Linked DNA regions of Homo sapiens: all the other regions are linked to region 1. The links are contacts of gene promoters, found by promoter capture Hi-C in blood cells and fetal thymus (Javierre and others, 2016). All regions are on one chromosome and are shown on one strand. The core of a region is centred on a gene start or on the middle of the fragment in contact, and the rest is flanking DNA. Distances in the headings are between cores, read along the strand shown.

Region 1 (2,574 bases), core at 56-2,555:
CCGAGGCGGGCGGATCACGAGGTCAGGAGATCAAGACCATGGTGAAACCCTGTCTCTACTAAAAATACAAAAAATTAGCCGGGCGTGGTGGCGGGCGCCTGTAGTCCCAGCTACTCGGAGAGGCTGAGGCAGGAGAATGGCGTGAACCCGGGAGGCGGAGCTTGCAGTGAGCAGAGATCGCACCACTGCACTCCAGCCTGGGCGACAGAGGGAGACTCCGTCTCAAGTCAAACCTCATAACCTACCACCAGTGCTCCTGGCACCAAAATCACAAGAAAACCTTGGGTGGAGCAACCATTTTCAGACTTAGGGACACAGGTTAGATAGTCGGCATGTAAAAATGTTAAATAAATATGTATCCCTTCGGGTTCTCTCCACCTCCAGCCGACACATCCTAAATAAATTCCACTAAGTGGTTGAGGGAATCTACTAAACCTTAGAAGCCCTCTTTTTTTTTGAAACGGAGCCTCACTTTGTTGCCCAGGCTGGAGTGCAGTGGCGCCATCTTGATTCACTGAAACCTCTGCCTCCTGGGTTCAAGCGATTCTTCTGCCTCAGCCTCCAGAGTAGCTGGGATTACAAGCGCGCACCACCACGCCCGGCTAATTTTGTATCTTTAGTGGAGATGGGATTTCGTCATGTTGGCTAGGTTGGTCTTGAACTCCTGGACCTCAAGCGATTCGCCTAAGAAGCCCTCTTTGAGGAAGAAGGAAGAAGTTTCCAGGGCCATTGGATTCCAATATCCAAGTAAGGTTGATCTAACTGAAGACAAGTGAACTCGAACCATAGGACAGCTCTGCACTAACCCTCCCACTAGGCTGGATTCTGCCTCTGTTCCATCCCAGCTCCCTTTCTCCTTTATGGACTCAATGAAGTGGTCAAGCAATTATAGATTTTGGCTTGGGACAAGCAAATTACTCAGGATGAAGAAATACTTTGGTGACCTTTAGTGCCCTCAGATCGCCCCTTGCCAACTGAGAACAGAGTACAATAAAACAACAGGGCATTAAGCAGGACCAAGCGCCACTCAGAGGCAAGTGCAGCTCCAAGGGCCCTCAGAGTAAGCTTCTGGGCCTCAGGCGGCCTTCGCTGGAATCCCCTAGTCCCCATTCCTGGTGGGCGGGTTCCATTGACACCTTTCCCGGCCACGCCGAGGGGGAGGAGGCGGGGCCTGGAGCCCCGGAGAGCCAATGTGGACGGCCGTGGTCACGCGCCGCCGTCGAGCAGGCCAATGGGCGCCGGGGGGCGTGTCCAGGGCCTCGGGCTCAGGGCGTTTATAACAACTTGGAATGCTGTGCTTTACTGCGCGCTCTGGTACTGCTGTGGCTCCCCGTCCTGGTGCGGGACCTGTGCCCCGCGCTTCAGCCCTCCCCGCACAGCCTACTGATTCCCCTGCCGCCCTTGCTCACCTCCTGCTCGCCATGGAGTCGCTGGTTTTCGCGCGGCGCTCCGGCCCCACTCCCTCGGCCGCAGAGCTAGCCCGGCCGCTGGCGGAAGGGCTGATCAAGTCGCCCAAGCCCCTAATGAAGAAGCAGGCGGTGAAGCGGCACCACCACAAGCACAACCTGCGGCACCGCTACGAGTTCCTGGAGACCCTGGGCAAAGGCACCTACGGGAAGGTGAAGAAGGCGCGGGAGAGCTCGGGGCGCCTGGTGAGTGCGGCTCCCTCTCGCGGCGCGGGGCGGGCTCCGGCTTGGCCGCCGGCAGGGAGCGGAGGAGGGCGGGCGGCGGCTCGCTCGTTGCTCGGCGGAGAGGCCAGCGTGGTCTTTACCGCGCTGAGCTTGCGGGGCTACTGCGGGGTGTCCCTGGCAGATGTGTCAGTCCGTGATTGCAGGGACAGTGGTCGCAAACTTGCGAACCCCAGCCAGCAACACCGTACTGCTGTGATGATTGCCAAATAAAAGGGAGGCTATGGATAGTTGGCGCGGAAAAACGAATCGTGTCGTGTCCTGGGATAAGATGGATGGGACTTAAGTTGAGTTTTGCTGGGAAAAGACTGTTCAATAGAGTGCAATGGAAAGAGGAAGTAGAAGGCACCCCATCTTAATAGGTATTTGGTAAATATGTGTGTGGTTGAATGAATGGATGAGGTGTGGATTTCCCCAACTCCAAGAATCTGGCAACCCAGCACACTGGAGCTCTGGCACGGGGTGGGTTTTGACATTTAGGTCCTTTCCAGCTCTAAAATTTAGTTGAAATTTCATTATGATGAGTTTTTGATTCTGGAAAATGTGAAACCAGGTCCACTGTACCAGAGACACCTTTCGGTTTGGGGGCCTTTTCAAGAACATGCCCTGTTACTTTGGTGCGAGCGTAGGAGTCTAGCAGTCTGTGTGACCTTGGGCAATTTCCTTCATCTCTGTACTTTGTTTCCCCTTTTGCAGAACTGTAGAAAACACAGCCTGCCTCACAAGCTGCTGTGAGGATTGAATAAGATCGAAATATGAACTTATATTGCTCCTAACACATAGAACTTGCGGTGAGATAGCCGGGCGCGGTGGCTCACGCCTGTAATCCCAGCACTGTGGGAGGCCGAGGCGGGCGGATCGTGAGGTCAGGAGATCGAGACCATCC
Region 2 (2,574 bases), core at 31-2,530, 210 kb after region 1:
ATTTTAATTTTTTTGAGACAGAGTCTTGCTCTGTTGCCCAGGCTGGAATGCAGTGGTGCGATCTCGGCTCACTGCAACCTCCACCTCCCGGGTTCAGGCAATTCTCCTGCCTCAACCTCCTGAGTAGCTGGAATTACAGGTGCACACCACCATGACCGGCTGATTTTTGTATTTTTAGTAGAGACAGTGTTTTGCCATGTTGGCCAGGCTGGTCTTGAACTACTGACCTCAGGTAATCTGCTTGCCTTGGCCTCCCAAACTGTTAGGATTGCAGGTGTGAGCCTCCATGCCCAGCCAGATAATTTATAACTTTAAATTTGTAAGATAAGTAGATGTTGCCAGATATATTCCAAGCAGAGGGCACTGCACAGGCCAAGGCATATCAGCTTGAAACAAGTATGGTACAATGGGGAACTACAGGTATCAGGATAGCTGGATTGTGGTATGGGACATACGATATGACAAGAGCCAAGGTAAACCAAGGTCCTCATGGAGAACCTCGTCTGCCATACTCAGGAATTTGATTCCTAGCTCATATGTACTCTGAAGTCATTAAAAGATTTTGGCAGGAAAGTCACATGATGAGCTTTTATTTTAGAAAGATCTTCAAAGCAACAAGTAGAAAAGAGATTGAAGGGGCAACAGTAAGTGAACATAGGAGAACTGCTGTGGTCTAGGCTGGAGATAATGAGTGTTGCAGTAAGAAAGGAGCCAAGTTAGACAGATGTGAGAAATGGTAGAAATAAGAGGACTTAGTCATTAATTTGATTGGGGTGTGAGTGAAATGGAGAAGTTAAGATAATTCTTAGGTTTCTGGCTTGGTTGAAGATACTCATTAATGGAAGATTTGAGGGGGAAGTGGTGAGTTTGAGATTATGGTTGCATGTCTCCTATTATTTTCATGTTAGTTTATTGCAAATATTTGTGTTAGAGTATCTTCCCTGTAAGATCTTAAGTGCTGTTTGAGTACAAACCTTGTGTGCCATTTCACTGCTATGTTCTCAGCTTCTAGCGTTGTACCTGATATACAGTAGCCATTCAGATACTTGTCGGATGAATGGGAAATGTCCCAATAAGCATCTGAGATGCCCAAAGGGCATTTGGTCTATGAGTTCTCATTACAGTAGACTTCCAGAAGTGTTATTAGTCAGTCAAAGGATATAAAGTAAGAGATTTTTCAACCCCTCCCTCCAACATTTTTAATATTTTAAAATCACAAAACCTATACTTGATTATTTAAAAGTTTTTTGTTTTTTTTAAATTTTTTCGAGACAGAGTCTTGCTCTGTCACCCAGGCTGGAGTGCAGTGGCACGATCTCGGCTCACTGCAACCTCCGCCTCCCAGATTCAAGTGATTCTCCTGCCTCAGCCTCCTGAGTAGCTGGGATTACAGAAGCAGGCCACCACGCCCGGCTAAGTTTTGTATTTTTAGTAGAGGTGGGGTTTCACCATGTTGGCCAGGCCAGTCTTGACCTCCCGACCTCAGGTGATCTGCCTGCCTTGGCCTCCCAAAGTGCCAAGATTACAGTAGTGAGCCACCGTGCTTGGCCATTTAAAAATATTTTTAAAAATTAAAAGAATATATAAATATGCAAAGTAAAAAATGAAAGCCCTTTGTCTACTTCTTAGGGTAACCACTGTTAAAGAGTGTGGAATATATTCTATCTATAAGATATCTATATCTTTTTATGTGGGAAATAATTAATACATATATCCACATAATATGTTTTTAAACAAAAATAAATATATTTTGTTCTGTAGCTTGCTTTTCCACTTAGCATATAGTGGATATTTCTCTGTGTCTCCTTATTTTATATAGTTGTGTCTATAGAGTATTGCACAGTATACATGCATCATAGATTTAACTGTTCCTTATTTGAGCATATTAGGGAACAAATTTTACCAAGGGAAGTTTTAGGTAGGCATGATAGCTGACTTCAACTATTAGTAAAGTTGATGTATGAAAGAGAGAAAAAATGGCCCAGGATGTAGAAGCAGAACTGGTAGGTACTGGCTGGGCACGGTGGCTCATGCCTGTAATCCCAGCACTTTCAGAGGCCGAGGCTCACCAATCACTTGAGGTCAGGAGTTCGAGACCAGCCTGGACAACATGGTGAAACTCCGTCTCTACTAAAAATACAAAAATTAGCTGGGTGCGGTGACATGCGCCTGTAATCCCAGCTACTCGGGAGGCTGAGGCAGGAGAATCGCTTGAACCGGCATATGGAGGTTGCGGTGAGCCGGGATCTGCCTGGGCGACAGAGCGAGACCCTGTCTCGGAAAAAAAAAACCCAAAAAACAAAACAGAACTAGTAGGTAGTGAACAGAAGTTAGCTATAGGGAAACAAAGTTAACTCCAAGTAGAGAGGAGCTCCCAAGCAGAGGTGCTGTGGGTGGGATTGACTGCCCAGGAGAGAGCTATCTGAGAGCTGTTCCTGCCTGAGCTTGCCACCCCCCTTGTTAGGATGCTGCAGAAGAAATTCAAGCACTGGATGGGGGCCATAGGTAGACTTTAGCACATTGGAATCAGTAAAGACCCATCTGTTTTTGGGAAAGAAGCTGTGAAAAAGTATA
Region 3 (2,574 bases), core at 1-2,500, 200 kb before region 1:
AGAGCTGCCCCGGCTCCTCCCCGCTGTCTGTTGGGGAGAAGGTGCTGCACTCCTGCGGGGGGTCTCTGCCAAGAGGACCGAGCTGCAAGTCTAAGAGGGACAGGCGTCAGCTCCCCTCCCTGCCTCTCTGTCCTGAGGGAGAGAAGGGTAGCCCCCCTCCCCCAGCGCTGTGCTCCTCCCCTAAGGCCAGTGGGGAGGGGGTGGGCGGGGAGGGGAAGGTGACTGGGGAGTGTCTGGTAGGTGGGAGAGGTGCTGGGTGGGCCCAGACCCCTCACTCTCATTCCGCCGGTTGTGGAGCTGGTTGAATTGCTCCGTGAATTCAGCCAAGGATTCTTCAATGGTCTCAGTGCGGGGCACTGACAGGGAGAAACGGCGCTTAAAGTTCTTCATCTTGTTCATGATCATGAGGGACTGGGCAGCCGGGTCCTGAGATGGGAAGTGTGAGAAGAGCAGTTGAAAAGAACAAGGCAACCAGTCCAGGTCTCCACCCACTGGGAATTCAGCTCTCTCATCAAGCTCTGTCGCCCTGTATGCCACCATCACTGGGAGCCAGGGTTGTGTCTTCTGCAAAGTTTGACCCCTCTGAGGGTGGGTGTTCACCCTCTTCTTCCCAGTCACCTTCTTCCTCCCAGTGACCCTCAGCACTGCCTCCACTGCCCACCGCCCGCCCCGCCACGCCCTGTGCAGTTCTCTATGGACCACCTAGTCCAGCAAAGTATTGGTCATAATAGCAGGCATGATGTGCAAAGAGGATCCTGAAGGCCCCCCAGACCTAAGCCCTTTAGCTGCTGGAGGTCTAGAGAGTTCTGGGGGAAGGGCTGGGGTGGCAGGGAGGGTGCCAGAACCAGGCAGTCCTTGGACCAGCAGAAATTTACCAACTTGTGTCCAAGGGCCTGAATGTGTCAACAGCCAATAAATCTTACTGACCAAGGCCCGTAAACTGAATGTCAGCTTGGCCAACACCCTTGGGACATGATTGGGTCCAAACCTCATTTCACCTCTGATACTGACACCTGAAGGTCTCTGCTCTGGCATGCCCCAGGAGGCAAGAGGGGAAAAAGAGGAGGAAGGGAAGAGTGCATCAGAGCTGGCCAGCTGCACCTTCTCTCCAGCTGAAATACAGGAGGTCAGGAGCAGTGGAAGGTCTCAGGGGAAACACGGAAGCTTGCCATTAATAGAGTCGAGCCCTAGGGAAGATGAGGCTTGATCCCTGCAGGCCTCTTCCCATGCCAGAGCCCTCCAAGCAGGCAGGTATCCCCTACCGAGAACACCATGGAGGAGCGGGGTAAGCTGCTCTGCCCACCCCCACGGTCCTGTCCCCAACCATGAAAGCTTTCTTCTTCAGGCTACCCAGCTCCTCGTGCCCTCTGAATTAGAGGATGCCCTGCTGGCCACCCAATGAGACCCATGCAACTGCTTCTTCCTGCAGACCCTCCCTTCTCCCTCCTGCCCTGAAAACCCAGAGCAGCGCTGTCTCACCTCCCCTCCACTTCCCTTCATGGTTTCCTACACGCTCAGTGCAGCCCCCCTCTCATCCTGCTCTGCACACACTGCCCTTGAGGCCTCACAAGGGCTTCCACCCATGCTGGCAAGAAGGCACCAGGGGGTGAGCCCTATGATGGGCCGCCCTGCACCCGCTCCCAGCTGTTACCCATGCACCAGCACCAGGCACAGCCCACTCCTGGAGGATGCTCTCAGCCCTGCGACTGGCCAGCACCTAGTTGCCAAGGCGACCAGGCCCTTCCCGAATCCTCCTGGTTTAAGGGATTATGGGTCAGTAACATGTTGGCTTTGCTTAATGATCACATCCTTCTGTCCTCAGCCAGCCTGGAAAGGGTCCTCTGTCTGGCAGCGCATGCTCCTGGCTGCCCCCAAACACAGCTCAGTGGTGGCCCTCCAGCTGCCCTGATCCTCATGGCTGGGTATGAACAAGCTCTCCTTCATTCCTTTAGCGGGCTGGCACCTTTCAGAGTGGAGGCCTCGGGTCTGCAGTGCTAGGCAGGCCCATCTCTGTCAGTGGGCCCTGAAGTCTCACTCAGTTCCACTGAACAAATGAACTGGCCGGGCATGGTGGCTCATGCCTGTAATCCCAGCACTTTGGGAGGCTGAGGCAGGTGCATTACTTGAGGTCAGGAGTTTGAGACCAGCCTGGCCAACATGGCGAAACCCTGTCTCTACTAAAAATACAAAAAAATTAGCTGGGCATGGTGGTGTGCACCTGTGATCCCAGTTACTTGGGAGGCTGAAGCAGGAGGATTGCTTGAACCCTGGAGGCGGAGGTTGCAGTGAGTGGAGATTGCGCCATTGCACTCCTGCCTGGGCGACAGAGCAAGACTCTGTCTTAAAAAACAAACAAACCAAAAAACTGAGCACCTACTATGCGCCAGCATTGTGCCAGGCATGAGGGTTTCAGAGGCAAGTAAAGGGTGGTCCCCATTCTCAAGAAACTCAGGGGCTGGTGATGCCTCCTTTGATGAGAAGGTAGCTGAAAGCGCTTCCTCTGGCTTCCTTGGCAGAGCCCACCAGCCTTGGACTTTCCTGACTCCCCATCCCTAAACTCCTTCCTGTCAGTCA
Region 4 (2,574 bases), core at 45-2,544, 190 kb after region 1:
CAGAGTAGGCTGCTTGCCTTCAAGAAGCTTATGTTCAAAGAATTGATTAGGCATTCCCTTAAGATATTAATGAACTGGAGAGAAACTCACTATATTCCAATTTTCCTTTCCTTCTAGCTAATAGTCTTTTGTTTCCTAGCTCCAGAAAGTTTAGTGTATCCTGGTGCTAAAGATAAATTAAGGTCAGGCACAGTGGCTCATGCCTGTAATCCTAGCACTCTGGAAGGCTGAGGTGGGCAGATTGCTTGAGTCCAGGAGTTTGAGACTAGCCTAGGCAGCATGGTGAAACCCTGTCTCTACAAAAGATACAAAAATTAGCCAGGCATGGTGGCACATGCCTGTAGTCTCAGCTACTTGGGAGGCTGAGGTGGGAGGATCACCAGAGCCCAGGAGGTAGAGGCTGTAGTGAGCCGTGATTGCACCACTGCACTCCAGCCTGGGTGACAGAGTAAGACACTGTCTCAGAAAAAAAAAAAAAAAAAAGGGATAAATTAAGTGCTTAATAAAGTGCTTCTAAGAATTTTCTTTCTTTTTCCCCTGACACTGGCCTTTTATCTTCTATCTATCAAAGTGTAAGACTGTCCATGTGGCTGCAAAATCCTCTACAAATAAAAGTATACCCCATGAGTACACACATGAGATCACTTTTTCAGTTCTATTGTTCATACAGGCACAAGCAAGAAAAAATTTGAGAGAGAAGAGTATCATGATAGTACAATCTTGATCCATGATCTTGAGAAAAAGCTGTCTACATCTGGGATGCCATCTGCTTCTGGAGAGAATCTTCCCTGGTTAGCTTTACCTTAAGGTTTCCAATCAGTATACAGTTCCAAGAGTCTGGAGGAGGCCCTTCTGAGTTGTGAGATTATGAGACCAAGGTTCAGGATCTCAAAGTTTTGCTGCATTGTGGATGCCAAGGGCAGTTTTTCTGTGATGTTGCCCTCAGAAGACCCAATCGATCTCCAGGTTCTAGATTGTGAAAGGTTTGATTGTCCTCAGTCAGTGGACTATGAAAGTTTTTTTTAACCTGGTGAAAATACACTTTGGCATAATGCATTAAAACCTTGTAGCATTTAGTCATATCAGTATTTAGTAGCAGAAGATACAAGACGTTCTATTATTAGGTGCATAGGCCTTTCCAGTGACTATTTATTTCATAAGGGGTCAACTTCCATCTTCTACTGGAAGTGGATCTGATTGTCATCAATCTGGTACACCTTTGACCAAGGCAATCTAGTCAATTCAGTTAGCTTTGCCTAATGTTATTGTATCTGCAATCCTTTTTTAAAAACTGGCCAGCCGCGGTGGCTCATGCCTGTAATCCCAACACTTTGGGAGGCCAAGGCAGGAGGATCGCCTGAGGTCAGGAGTTTGAGACCAGCCTGGCCAACATGGTGAAACCCCATCTCTACTAAAAATATAAATATTAGCCAGGCATGGTGGCAGTTGCCTGTAATCCCAGCAACTTGGGAAGCTGAGGCAGAAGAATCACTTGAATCCGGGAGGCACACGTTGCAGTGAGCTGAGATCATGCCATTGCACTCCAGCCTGGACAACAGAGGGACATTCTATCTCAAAAAAACCAAAAAAAAACAAAAAACTGTTTTATGGCCAGACGCCGTGGCTCATGCCTGTAATCCCAACACTTTGGGAGGTCGAGGAGGGTGGATCACCTGAGGTCTGGAGTTCAAGACCAGCTTGGCCAACATAATGAAACACCACCTTTACTAAAAATACAAAATTAGCTGGGTGTGGTGGCACATGCCTGTAATCCCAGCTACTTGAGAGGCTGAGGCAGAAGAATCACTTGAATCTGGGAGGCAGAGGTTGCAGTGAGTCGAGATTATACCATTGCACTCCAGCCTGGGCAACAAGAGTGAAACTCTGTCTGAAAAATAAATAAATAAATAAATAGGCCAGGCGCGGTGGGTCATGCCTGTAATCCCAGCACTTTGGGAAGCTGAGGTGGGCAGATCACCTGAGGTCAGGAGTTCAAGACCAGCCTGGCCAACATGGTGAAACCCCGTCTCTACTAAAAATAGAAAAAATTAGCCGGGTGTGGTGGCAGGCGCCTGTAATCCCAGCTACTAGGGAGGCTGAGGCAGGAGAATTGCTTGAACCCAGGAGGTGGGAGGCGGAGGTTGCAGTGAGCCGAGATCGCGCCATTGCACTCCAGCCTGGGCAACCAGAGTGAAACTCCGTCTCAAAAAAATAAAAATTAAAAAATTAAAAAAAAACAAAATAAATAAATAAAACTGTTTTTACAACTTGTCCAGTGAAATAAGTATTAGTACTTCTATCACTACAACCAGAAAACATGCACTGAAAATGACAATTGAATAAAATTCTTCTATAAAGGTTTAAGTGACCCATCAGGTAGCAGAAATGTACTTGAAGTTGTGTTCATCTTCCCAGGATTATGGGTTTAACAAACAAAACATTGATCATAAACTATTTTAGCAATTTAGAACAGTCATCATACACACCCACTCACGCACACACATACACACACATTTAATTTGGAACATTTTATCTCTTCATGATGAATCATGGAAAGCTTAATAATGGAGGCTT
Region 5 (2,574 bases), core at 38-2,537, 160 kb before region 1:
ATGCGCCACCACACACGGCTAATTTTATATTTTTAGTAGCAATTGGGTTCCTCCATGTTGGTCAGGTTGGTCTGGAACTCCGGACCTCAGGTGATCCGCCCGCCTCAGCCTCCCAAAGTGGTGGGGTTACAGGCGTGAGCCACCATGCCTGGTCATAGCTGGTGTCTTCTGATGCCAGGTTGTGGCTCTCTCCTGTAAGCAGGCTGCCCTTAACAACCGCACCCTCCCTGAGGAGGCTCTAATGTCTGCAGTTTCTTTCAATGGTCCTGCTCCTGACCTCCTCCCTGGTAAAACACCAAACCACCCTTTCTGCCCTCTCAGAACTCAGAATGGTGCAAGGTGCTTCCATGCACAGGAGCTCATTTCTACCAAGAACAGGCTCCCCCAGGGCATTTGAGGACAGCGACTCTTATCTCAAGGGGCTTTGGATGCAGTTGGGAATACAAAGGCAGACAGTTCTACACACACAAAAATGGGAGGCTGGGCAGTGACTCTGAGGGCCAGGCAACTGACCCAGACAGTGACAGAGAGATTGTGGGGCTGTGGTGGTCAGGGAAGGCTGCCAGGAGCATGGGGACCTTTGGGAAGCTACAGGGGAGTGAAGAGGCAGGAACGCTCAGGGTCTTTCTAGGTATATGGTGAACCAGACAGACATCTGTACCAGACGGCAGAGCGAAGCCCATCAAGTTAGAGCAGGCTGGTTCTCAGAGAGCTTCAAATGCCAGGCGAAGGGAGGTCAATTTGGTCATGTGAGAGACGGGGAGTCATTGAAGGTGTTTGAGGGAGGGGGGACAGGAAGCAGTGGCATTTCAGGAAGGCTGACATCCAAGTGAGGAGGAGACTGGGAGCATGTCTGGGACTGAAGAGTAGACTAATTTTTCTTTTAATTTTTGTAGACTAGGGGAGTATGTTTCTGTGGCCCAGGCTTAAGGTAACTAACTGTAGACGCAACGGAGAACTGCCAGGATGTCCTGCAGGATGTGATGTTGGGGGTAAAGGAGAAGGACCAGCCCAACATGGGAATAACTGGAGAGTCAAGCAATGTGTGTGTGTGTGTGTGTGTGTGTGTGTGTGTGTGTGTGTGTGTGTCGGGGGACGGGCGTGTGATGTCAGGGAAAGGATCATTAGTTCTTTTTATATGAGGGTTAATTTGAGGACATCAAGTAGAAATGCTTCGTGAACAGATCAAGATACAGGACAGGATGTTGGAAGACAGTCAGGGCTTCAGTGTGGATAAGGAGGGAATCAGCCACAGGGGCATGGTCTTGCAGCCGGGGAGGGACTCTGGATGCAGGGGGAGCCAGTGTGGAGAGGGAGGCTGAGGCCAGCAGGAAGAGAACTAGAGGTGGGAGGGGTCAGGGCAAGGGTATGTGTTGAGGTCTCCCCAGTGGCCAGTCCCCTTCTCCACCTCAGCAGCTCCTATTTTCATTTGGAAGATCCTGGCAACTCTGGGGACAGAAGGGATCTCTGGCTGTGGAGTGGAGCACATGGTATCATGATTGATTCGAGGGGGACATGTCTCCTAAGTCTTGCCAACCAGAGACTTACAGGGCTTTTGAATGACACCCTGGGACAAGAAGCTCTTTCTATCACTGTGTGAAGGAAGAGGCAGGTGGCACCAAGAGCAGCAGCCTGGGAGGGAGCATGAGGCTGAGGAAGACAGAGGGGCAGAAAGAAAGAACTAGCCCTATGTGACATCCCTGCGTTGCTCCATCAGTCCTTGCTGGAACCATTTGTGAATGAATAGATGTCCTGTATTTTTTAGCCTGTTAGGTAGAGAGCTTTTCTGTTTCCTGCAAATAGAAGATTCCTAATTCCTATGGAAGATGCAAGAGAGCCTGAAGAATATTGCTTTCAATAATTAAGGAAGAACATTTCAAAATGGAAGAAGGGGTGAATAGTATCAAATGCTGAGAGTGTCAGATCAGAGACTTTTCTGAGGGGGAGCGGTTCTGAGGGGGAGCGGTGAGGGAGAACAGGGTCTTGCTCTGTTGCCCAGGCTGGAGTGTAGTGGTTTGATCGCGGCTCACTGTAGCCTCGACGTCCCGGGCTCAAGCGATCCTCCCACCTCAGCCTCCCAAATAGCTGGGACTACAGACATGTACCACCATGCCTGACTAATTTTTTTTAATTTTTGTAGAGATGGGGTCTTGCTATATTGCCCAGGCTGGTCTCAAACTCCTGGGTTCAAGCGATCCTCCTGCCTTAGCCTCCCAAAGTGCTAGGATTACAAGCGTGAGCCACCGCACCCAGCCCAGAGATGTTTTATAGTTACTCAAAAACTGTGTGACAGAAAAGGAACCTGGGGGTCAGAGAGGCTTCTAGAATCTGGCAGCCCCTACAGCCAGGACTCAGAACTCCCAGTCTGATCAGTTACCTCAAGGAGGAAAGGGAGATGTTTCCCCTTGGGGGAGCTATTTCCAGAGCTCCTCCTCACCCATGTCTTTGCTGTAGCCCTCCCTCCCCCAAGCCCAGCCCCACTCAACTCCTTTCCAGGGGCTCAGTGGCCATCTCCCTGCCCCCAGGCCAAACTCACCTGACTGTACCTCAGATAGAAGAATAGCTAATATTTTT

Evidence for each region. Contacts are between HindIII fragments. The CHiCAGO score rates a contact against its expected background, and 5 or more counts as called.
Region 2: a fragment that was not itself captured here is called in contact with the fragment with the promoter of NUAK2 in region 1 in 1 of 17 cell types (neutrophils); the score reaches 5.1 in neutrophils.
Region 3: a fragment that was not itself captured here is called in contact with the fragment with the promoter of NUAK2 in region 1 in 2 of 17 cell types (naive B cells and total B cells); the score reaches 7.8 in naive B cells.
Region 4: a fragment that was not itself captured here is called in contact with the fragment with the promoter of NUAK2 in region 1 in 1 of 17 cell types (neutrophils); the score reaches 5.6 in neutrophils.
Region 5: a contact is called between a fragment that was not itself captured here and the fragment with the promoter of NUAK2 in region 1, in 2 of 17 cell types (naive B cells and total B cells). The highest score is 7.6, in naive B cells.

What each region holds. Positions count from the first base shown.
Region 1 is chr1:205,320,476-205,323,049 of GRCh38, reverse strand. It overlaps NUAK2 (NUAK family kinase 2), which reads left to right and starts at 1,305. Exons shown (of 7, transcript NM_030952.3): 1 at 1,305-1,652. The coding sequence starts at 1,422. RefSeq lists a silencer at 1,619-1,798. The HindIII fragment of the contact is 5,000 bases long and covers 1,068-2,574 here.
Region 2 is chr1:205,109,758-205,112,331 of GRCh38, reverse strand. All of the region lies in intron 3 of RBBP5 (RB binding protein 5, histone lysine methyltransferase complex subunit), which reads left to right. Among named protein-coding and RNA genes, the nearest start is that of RBBP5, 11 kb to the left of the region's middle. The HindIII fragment of the contact is 2,830 bases long and covers 1-2,574 here.
Region 3 is chr1:205,520,999-205,523,572 of GRCh38, reverse strand. CDK18 (cyclin dependent kinase 18) reads right to left here. Exons shown (of 16, transcript NM_212502.3): 2 at 276-426; 3 at 1-90. The coding sequence starts at 405. Among named protein-coding and RNA genes, the nearest start is that of CDK18, 18 kb to the right of the region's middle. RefSeq lists an enhancer at 1,322-2,147. The HindIII fragment of the contact is 168 bases long and covers 1,167-1,334 here.
Region 4 is chr1:205,128,181-205,130,754 of GRCh38, reverse strand. No RefSeq gene overlaps it. Among named protein-coding and RNA genes, the nearest start is that of RBBP5, 7.5 kb to the right of the region's middle. The HindIII fragment of the contact is 2,530 bases long and covers 30-2,559 here.
Region 5 is chr1:205,482,304-205,484,877 of GRCh38, reverse strand. No RefSeq gene overlaps it. Among named protein-coding and RNA genes, the nearest start is that of TRK-TTT8-1, 9.4 kb to the right of the region's middle. The HindIII fragment of the contact is 5,521 bases long and covers 1-2,574 here.